Regions from separate parts of the Homo sapiens genome. Here region 1 is linked to region 2. Evidence: promoter capture Hi-C in human tissues and cell types (Jung and others, 2019). All regions are on one chromosome and are shown on one strand. Each heading gives the region's core, a stretch centred on a gene start or on the middle of the fragment in contact. The rest is flanking DNA. Distances are from core to core; before and after follow the strand shown. Region 1 holds the start of LINC01647 (long intergenic non-protein coding RNA 1647). Region 2 holds the start of EXOSC10 (exosome component 10).

Region 1 (4,264 bases), core at 652-3,151, 510 kb before region 2:
CAGCATGGGAAAGACTCAGCCCCATGAGTCAATTACCTCCCATGGGGTCCCTCCCATGACATGTGGGAATTACAGGAGCTACAATTCAAGATGAGATTTGGTGGGGGGACACAGCCAAACCGTATCACCCACCCTGCAAATTTTGGACTTGCCAGCCTCTGTAATCACATGAGCCAATTTCTCGAACCTCTCTCTCTCCCCACTCTCTGTCTCCCTACCTACCTATACATGCATACACAACCTGTGTGTTCTGTTTCTCTGCAGGGCCTGACCAGTACAGGCCCCCTTTAGCCATTGTCTCCCTTTGGCATGAGGCAGAACAGATGTGCGCAGGGAGAGGACAGCAGCTGTTCTCCAGTTCCCTCAGCTTTTCCATTGCCCCTGCAAAAATGTAATAGAAAAACTCAGCTCAAAGTGGCTTCAGCCACACCAGGGCTTTATCAGCAGGTGTTACTGGGAGTACAGGGCTAAGGCAGTCTCCAGGGTTATTTGACTCAGCAGCTGGTATCAACAAGGCCCAATTATTTTCCTATCTCTCCAGTCTTTTCTATTTCTGATGTTAGTTTTGGTTAGAAGAGGGCTTCCCTCATGGTGGCAGAAAGGCTGCATAGTTCCAGCCGTACCTCCTAGTCCAAAAGGAGAGAGATGTCTGTGTCCTAGAATCCCAGCAAAAGTCCTCAGCCTGAAGGAGGGCTGACTGGCCCCCCTACTTCAGAGCCAAGATGTATGGCCAGAGGAATGACACAAACTGATCAGCTCACTATCTAAACCAATTGCTGTGGCGAGGGGCATGGGTTACCTCTTGGCAGGAGGGTTTGGGGCTATCGTGGGGTTGGCTTCACACAAACAGGGTGGTTGTTACACAGTGGATGTGTGTGTTTTGGGGGCCCATATAGATGCTTAGCTCAGAGGTTTAGCCCAGGTGGTCCAGGCCCTACCCCTTTCCCTTATTCCCCCTCTACTTCCTTCCCCTGTCTTCTTCTCTCTCCTCTGTGCTCACAGGCTGTGGCCCCACCCTGGCTAGCTGCCCAGGCCCTCTGCTGGGAACCCCTGATATAGCCATACCGTTTGTACCTGCCCAGTCTCATTTCTTCCCCTTCTGGTAACAGAACCCCGTCCCCTGGAGAGACATCCCCCCGTCACTCCATTTGGCTGTGGGGACGGTTGCATCCCTGCAGCCCTCCCTACTTACACAGCCATGAGATCCAGGCCGGGCCAATCAGACTTCTCTGGGATTTTGCTTCCCTCTTTCCTGTGAAGCCATTAGCTGGGTTGATGTGAGCTGGAGCTGTCTGTGGCCTCACCCCGCCCCTGCCACATGGAAGAAGCTGTGTGCAGAAGAGACAGAGACAGAGAGAGAGCACTAAGAGGTCAAAGGATAGGCTTTAGTCCCTGGATTCAGCTGTGTCTGAAGCCAGTGCTATCACACCTGGCCTTTTCCATTACCAGAGCTGCTAGATGCCCTTCCCCTTGAACTAGCTTGGTTGGGCTTTTGTGGCTCGTGACCAAAAGCCCCTGACTGGCATACCAGCATTCATTTCTTTATTCATTTAATTCAACAGTCAACACTTCCTTTGAGCCAGGTAATTCTGGAAGATAGGTACCGTTACTATGCTGATTTCATAAATGGGGAACTGAGGCATGGAGAATTTAAGCAACTTCCCCAAGGTCATTCAAGGTCATTTAATTAGTAATAGTGTCGCTGGGATTGAACCTGTCTCTGTCTGTTTCCAAACAGTCAGCTTCCTCCAGCCAGAAGCTGCTATGAAGTTATCCAGGCAGAGTCTGGCGAGAGGAGAGGCCAGCTTCTCCTAGGCTTTAATAATAGCAGCAGCAATAACAACAACATGCAACGAAGACTCATGATGTGCCAGGCAGTATTCCAAACACTTGACGTGGATTCTCCTCTTTAGGTGCTTATATGTATTTTTTAATCCCCATTTTTTAGATAGAAACACTGAGCTTCAGAAAGATGCAGTAATTTTCCCAGCATCTTGCAGCTAGGAAGTGATGGGTTGAGATTTTCTCTTGGCAACAATTTCCACTGGAGGGTCAGAGCCCAGGGCTAGGATTGGGTCTCTTCTGTTCCTCAGGAAGGCAGAGCCTCCCAGGCCATCCCTGTGCCAAGCACTGCTGTTAAATGCCCAATAACCGGCCAGGTGCCTCCTCCCTCCCTGGTCTTCAGAGCTGCTGGGTCAGGGACCTGGCTGATTTCCCAGTAGTAGAGCCTCAAGGGTGGGTCATGAGAGGGTATAAGTCACACACAGTATGATTCTCAAAGTGGCTTTGGCCTGTGTGTGACTGACTTCAAACAGCCATGGGAGGAGAGGGTGGGAGTGAGGAGGAGAGTGGGAGTGAGGGTTAGGAGTGGGAGTGCGGAGGGGCTGGTGCCTAGAACGCAGGTCTCCTTTGGGCTGGAGGCGCAGGCTTATGTTTGGTCTGTGGTGGCAACATGCCCCTCACAGTGGTGCCCGTCACCCCAGGTTCTTCAGGGTTCCGGTCTCTTGGGGGTGTTGGGGGGGCAGCTAATCTATTGCCTGCACACTCTCCCTCTTGGTAGGAAGTGTGCATCGTGACAGGGGCCTTCTAGAGCCAAGGTCTTACCCCAAAGATGAGGAGGCACAGGGGTGAAAACGCTAGAACAATGGATTCATCTTCCTGGGGGTCCCTGCAGGGACCAGGCTCACAAAAGACCCCAGGGAACCTGGGTAGCTCTTTCAAGGGTGTCCTGCTCCCTCCTGGGTCCCTCAGGTCCTCCCATCAGTGCCTTTGCCCTACGCTGCTGCGTTTCCTGTGCCCTGAAACACACAGGGCTACCTTCCTGAGCGCCCAGGCCTCCCTGCTGTTCACCCGCTTGGACTGGCTGTGTCCACAGCTGTCAACCCTCTGTGGCAGTGGATTATATTCAATTTAGCACTTGATTAAGCCCTGATATTTGCTTTTCCTTAAATTGCTTTAACTTTTCCAACTGATTTCAATCCCCTTTCCCCGAGTCTGCTCTGGTACCCCCCTGCTTGACTGCAGGCCACACTTTTTGGCCCTCTCCTATGTACCCACCCTGAGTTGCTCAGGCACAGAGGATCCAGGTTAAACACATGGATGTTGGCTCCAAGGATATCTCTCCCCTGCCTCAGCTCTGTACCAGATGCTGCCTTGGCCCCAGGATGAGGGAAGCCATGGGAGAAGCTGGTGGAGTGTCTCCGATGCTTCCTCTGAGGCAGGTTGGGGCAGGCCGGGCTGTGACAACAACTGTGTCCGCAACTGGTGGGTTTTTGGTCTCACTGACTTCAAGAATGAAGCCGCGGACCCTTGCGGTGAATGTTACAGCTCTTAAGGTGGCGCGTCTGGAGTTTGTTCCTTCTGATGTTCAGATGTGTTCGGAGTTTCTTCCTTCTGGTGGGTTCGTGGCCTCGCTGGTTCAGGAGTGAAGCTGCAGACCTTCACGGTGAGTGTTACAGCTCTTAAGGCAGCACGTCTGGAGTTGTTCGTTCCTCCCGGTGGGCTCGTGGTCTCGCTGGCTCAGGAGTGAACCTGCAGACCTTCGTGGTGAGTGTTACAGCTCATAAAACCAGTGTGGACCCAAAAAGTAAGCAGTAGCAAGATTTATTACAAAGAGCAAAAGAACAAAGCTTCCACAGTGTGGAAGGGGACCCGAGCGGGTTGCCACTGCTGGCTCGGGCAGCCTGCTTTTATTCTCTTATCTGGCCCCACCCACATCCTGCTGATTGGTAGAGCCGAGTGGTCTGTTTTGACAGGGCACTGATTGGTGCATTTACAATCCCTGAGCTAGACATAAAGGTTCTCCACGTCCCCACCAGATTAGCTAGATACAGAGTGTCCACACAAAGGTTCTCCAAGGCCCCACCAGAGTAGCTAGATACAGAGTGTCGATCGGTGCATTCACAAACCCTGAGCTAGACACAGGATGCTGATTGGTGTATTTACAATCCCTGAGCTAGACATAAAGGTTCTCCTCCTCCCCACCAGACTCAGGAGCCCAGCTGGCTACACCCAGTGGGTCCCACACCGGGGCTGCAGGTGGAGCTGCCTGCCAGTCCCGCACCATGCGCTCGCACTCCTCAGCCCTTGGGTGGTCGATGGGACTGGGCGCCATGGAGCAGGGGGCGGCGCTCGTGGGGGAGGCTCGGGCTGCACAGGAACCCACGGAGGTGGGGGAAGGCTCAGGCATGGAGGGCTGCAGGTCCCGAGCCCTGCCCCACGGTGGGCTGGCACTGCTGGGGGACCCAGTACACCCTCCACAGCC
Region 2 (4,296 bases), core at 702-3,201:
GCTTTCTTCAGGAGCTTACCTGTAAAGGGCAAGAGAGAGATGATGGCAGTTGGAAGGAGATGTGGGAGCCAGTGTTTTTTCCTTTTCTCTTTTAGTTGGGAAAGATGTCAGTGTACTTGTAGGCTGTTAGGAATGAACCAATAGAGAGGGAAAAGATAGATCCAGGGGGCAGGGGAGGTGTAATTAATTACAGGAGTCAAGACCAAATGGGTGAGGGGAACACAGAACCAGCCAGAGCTTGGGAGGAGGTGACTTTAAATATGAGGCTGGGCCGGGCACAGTGGTTCCTGCCTGTAATCCCAGTGAGGTGGGAGGACGGCTTCAGCCCAGGAGTTCGAGACCAGGTTGGTAAGATGCAGTCTAAAAAAAATAAGCCAGGCGCTGGTGGCGCACACCTGTAATCCCAGCACTTCGGGAGGCCAAAGCAGGTGGATCACTTGAGGTCAGGAGTTCAAGACCAGCCTGGCCAACATGGTGAAACCCCATCTCTACTAAAAATACAAAAAAAAAAAAAAAATTAGCCGGGCATTGTGGCACACGCCTGTAATCCCAGCTACTTGAACCTAGGAAGCGGAGGTTGCAGTGAGCTGAGATTGCACCACTGCACTCCAGCCTGGGCAGCAGAGTGAGACTCTGTCTCAAAAAAAAAAAATAAACAGGGCAGGCACGGTGGCTCCGCCTGTAATCCCAGCACTCTGGGAGGTCGAGGCGGGAGGATCACAAGGTGAGGAGTTCGAGACCAGCCTGGCCAATATGGTGAAACCCCGTTTCTACTAAAAATACGAAAAAAATTAGCCGAGCGTGGTGGTGCACGCCTGTAATCCCAGCTACTCGGGAGGCTGAGGCAAGAGAATTCGTTGAACCCGGGAGGCGGGAGGTTGCAGTGAGCCAAGATTGCGTCACTGCACTCCAGCCTGGGCAACAGAGTGAGACTCCATCTCAAAAAAAATAAAAATAAAAATAGGCTGCACGCTGATGACTCGTATCTGTAATCCCAGCACTTTGGGAGAGCAAGAGTGAAACTTTGTCCCAAAAACATGGTTTTTTTTGTTTGTTTGTGACAAGGTCTCACTCTGTTGCCCAGGCTGGAATGCAGTGGTTCGATCTCGGCTCACTGTAACCTCCACCTCCCGGGCTCAAGCCTCAGCCTCCCGAGTAGCTGGGATTACAGGCATGTGCCACCACGCCCGACTAATTTTTGTGTTTTTAGTATAGACAGAGTTTCACCATGTTGGCCAGGCTGGTCTCCAACTCCCGACCTCAGGTGATCCACCCGCCTCGGCCTCCTAAAGTGCTGGGATTACAGGTGTGAGTCACGGCGCCCAGCCTCAAAAACATAACCTTAAAAAGAAATTTTTGAGACAGGGTTTCATCCTGTCACCCCGGCTGGAGTGCAGTGGAGCCTCCACCTCCTCGGCTCAAGCAACCATCCCACCTCAGCCTCCCGAGCAGCTGGGACTACAGATGCGCACCACCACTCCCGGTAATCCCGGTTTGTTTGTTTTTTAAATTTTTAAATAAACACGAGGATAAGCGGGGATCGTGGCCCTCGCCTGGGGTCCCTGCTACTTCGCAGGCTAAGGTGGGAGGATCTCTTGAGCCCAAGAGTTCGAAACCAGATTGGGCAAACCTCGTGTCAAAAATATATGTGATAGTCAGGTCCTCCAGGCCGCACCCTAGATCACAGGGTTGTTGGGATGATACAATATGAGGTAAAAGAACGTGAAATTCACACCAGAGCGCTCGAAAGTGCCACCCTAATCGCAGGCTTCCCAACCTAATCGCAGGCTTCCCAACCTAATCGCAGGTGCCCCACCCTAAACGCAGGCTTCCCAACCTAATCGCAGGCGCCCCACCCCAATCGCAGGCTCCCCACACTATAATCAGACGCCCCGCCCGCCGCTTCGACCTGGCGCATGCGTGGTGCGCACGCGTCCCGTCTCCTCGGCCGACAAGCTCTCGCGAGACGAGCCGTGCAGGCTGAAAAAATGGCGCCACCCAGTACCCGGGAGCCCAGGGTCCTGTCGGCGACCAGCGCAACCAAATCCGACGGAGAGATGGTGCTGCCAGGCTTCCCGGACGCCGACAGCTTTGTGAAGGTGAGTTCGCGGGGCCTCGGGGGTACCAGGAGTCGCCCGCGGCCGCCGGAAGCCGACTGGGCCCTCTGGGCAGCCAATGCCCGCCCGCCGTAGTGGAGCCCGAGCGAGGGTCGCGGGGCCCCTGTCCGCGCTGGGCGCAGACTCTCCTGCACCCTCCGGGGATGGGGCCTCGGAAACGGACACTGAGGGGCGTCCCGCTTGCGAGCCTAAGTCCATGGAGGCCCAAATGTGGAAAGCCGTCTCGCATCCTGGGAAAGGCTTCCTTGCCACCCAGACGTCCCTAGCCCTTGCGACGTCGCGCTCGCCACGCCCTAGCCACCCGACCAGCTCTCCGCAGGGGCTCGGCTTCTTCGCGCTCCCCACACTTGCCTGGAGTTGTCTCCTCCCGCGGCCAGTATGGCCCTTCTCTTCCTCTGTTTCTGAAGTCCAGTCCTACATAATTTTTAACCCTGAGTTAAATGTCACCTGTTAAAGCCCCATTGCACGTTTATTAGTAACTCCTGGAAGGTATACAGGGCGTTCACTTAAGATCTTTGTATAACTTAGCTTAAATATGAGCAAACGTACAACTAGGCTTAAGGTGTGCATAGCTCTTACAAAGCAATGAAACTAAAATAATTTGTAAATTAACCCTATAAATTTACAGAAATTCCACTAACGTTGTATCTTATCTAATTTGCTGTTAGCTAATGCTATTGATTCATTAACATGGCTCTCAATAGTTCCTGGACCACTAACTGTGGTCCTGGTTGTGTGGCGGTCATGCTCATAAGCTACCATGTTCCCCTCCGTGACTTAATTTCCCACCTCCTTTCTCTGCTTTTTTCTTGGGAAATGTTTATTCACAAAACTCACAATGACGTTTTAGGCCTTCACATGATCAGCCATCATTTATGTCACTTCACGGCTTTTTTTCGTTACCTCACAACAGTTAAAATAGAGAACCACTTGACACTAACTGAACAATAAACACAAATCCAGTTTTAGATAGTAGCTGTTATAAATTTGTCGTCCAAGGATCTAGGATAAGCTTGTATTGTTTTTAGATGCTCATCCAGATGAAAACACAAAAACAAATTCCTGTAGAAAGCTCTTGGATCTGAACTTGAGTCGTAATAATAACGCTTATGTGCCAAGAACTGTCCTAAGTGCTTTTATTAGCTTATTCATTCTGTCCTCACAAAAACTCTGTGGTGCAGGCCCTTTTTATTTTTCCTGTTTCTCAGAGGAGAACACTAAAGTCCAAATAAAGCAATCACTTGTCCAAGATCTCAGTTAATACGTAGCAGAGTCAAGATTCAACCCCAGGTATTTGTGAATATTAATCAGATTATATACGTATGTATTCTGTCTCTCAACTCTCCCAAGAATATAAGCTCCAAACTTGGTTTCCTGTTCAGTATTGTATTCTCAGGGCCTAGATTAGATTGGGGTTTGGCACTAAATGAGTGCTTTTTTTGATGGATGAAGAGTAGATACCTTGTATACGATAGATCAAAAAAATGACATACCAAATGAATGGGGATCCCTGTGTAAACATGCCATCTTTTCTTGTTTTTGACAGTTTGCTCTTGGGTCCGTGGTGGCAGTCACCAAGGCATCTGGGGGCCTACCACAGTTTGGCGATGAGTATGATTTTTACCGAAGTTTTCCTGGCTTCCAAGCATTTTGCGAAACACAGGGAGACAGGTTGCTTCAGTGGTAAGTACTGTACTTTGTTTTCTTGTGTTAGTGAAAAGAAATGAAAACAAAGAAGTAGATAAATTTTTCCTGAAATTTATTTTTCCTTAAACATTTTCTGTGGTATGAAGAGCTATAAAATGTGAAAATTGAAGCAATGGATTTTGATTAGGGAAATATTACTTGGTATATTTTTAGTTTAGCCTTTAAAAAATGTATTGACTTTTGTACTGAAAAAATATATTGACTTTTGTACAAATCTTTTTTAATTAAATGGGACGTGAACACTTAGAGCCAAGATTCTTTTTTTTTTTTGAGACGGAGTCTCGCTCTATTGCCCAGGCTGGAGTGCGGTGGCATGATCTCGGCTCACTGCAAGCTCCGCCTCCCAGGTTCACGCTATTCTCCTGCCTCAGCCTCCTGAGTAGCTGGGACTACAGGTGCCCGTCAACACGCCCAGCTAATTTTTTGTATTTTTAGTAGAGACAGGGTTTCAACATGTTAGCCAGGATGGTCT

Evidence for each region. The method cuts DNA at HindIII sites, captures the fragments that hold promoters and counts their contacts. A contact is called where the count stands out against the background at its distance.
Region 1: a contact is called between a fragment that was not itself captured here and the fragment with the promoter of EXOSC10 in region 2, in 1 of the 25 tissues and cell types used here (H1 embryonic stem cells).

Annotation. Positions count from the first base shown.
Region 1 is chr1:11,608,907-11,613,170 of GRCh38, reverse strand. LINC01647 (long intergenic non-protein coding RNA 1647) reads right to left here and starts at 3,640. Exons shown (of 3, transcript NR_104624.1): 1 at 3,058-3,640; 2 at 1,193-1,328; 3 at 1-381. The HindIII fragment of the contact is 5,030 bases long and covers 1-4,264 here.
Region 2 is chr1:11,097,524-11,101,819 of GRCh38, reverse strand. EXOSC10 (exosome component 10) reads left to right here and starts at 1,951. Exons shown (of 25, transcript NM_001001998.3): 1 at 1,951-2,099; 2 at 3,664-3,800. The coding sequence starts at 1,989. It overlaps EXOSC10-AS1 (EXOSC10 antisense RNA 1), which reads right to left and starts at 2,145. Exons shown (of 2, transcript NR_135062.1): 1 at 2,006-2,145; 2 at 1-19. RefSeq lists enhancers at 1,662-2,222, 2,512-2,571, 2,223-2,785 and a silencer at 2,409-2,610. The HindIII fragment of the contact is 4,033 bases long and covers 777-4,296 here.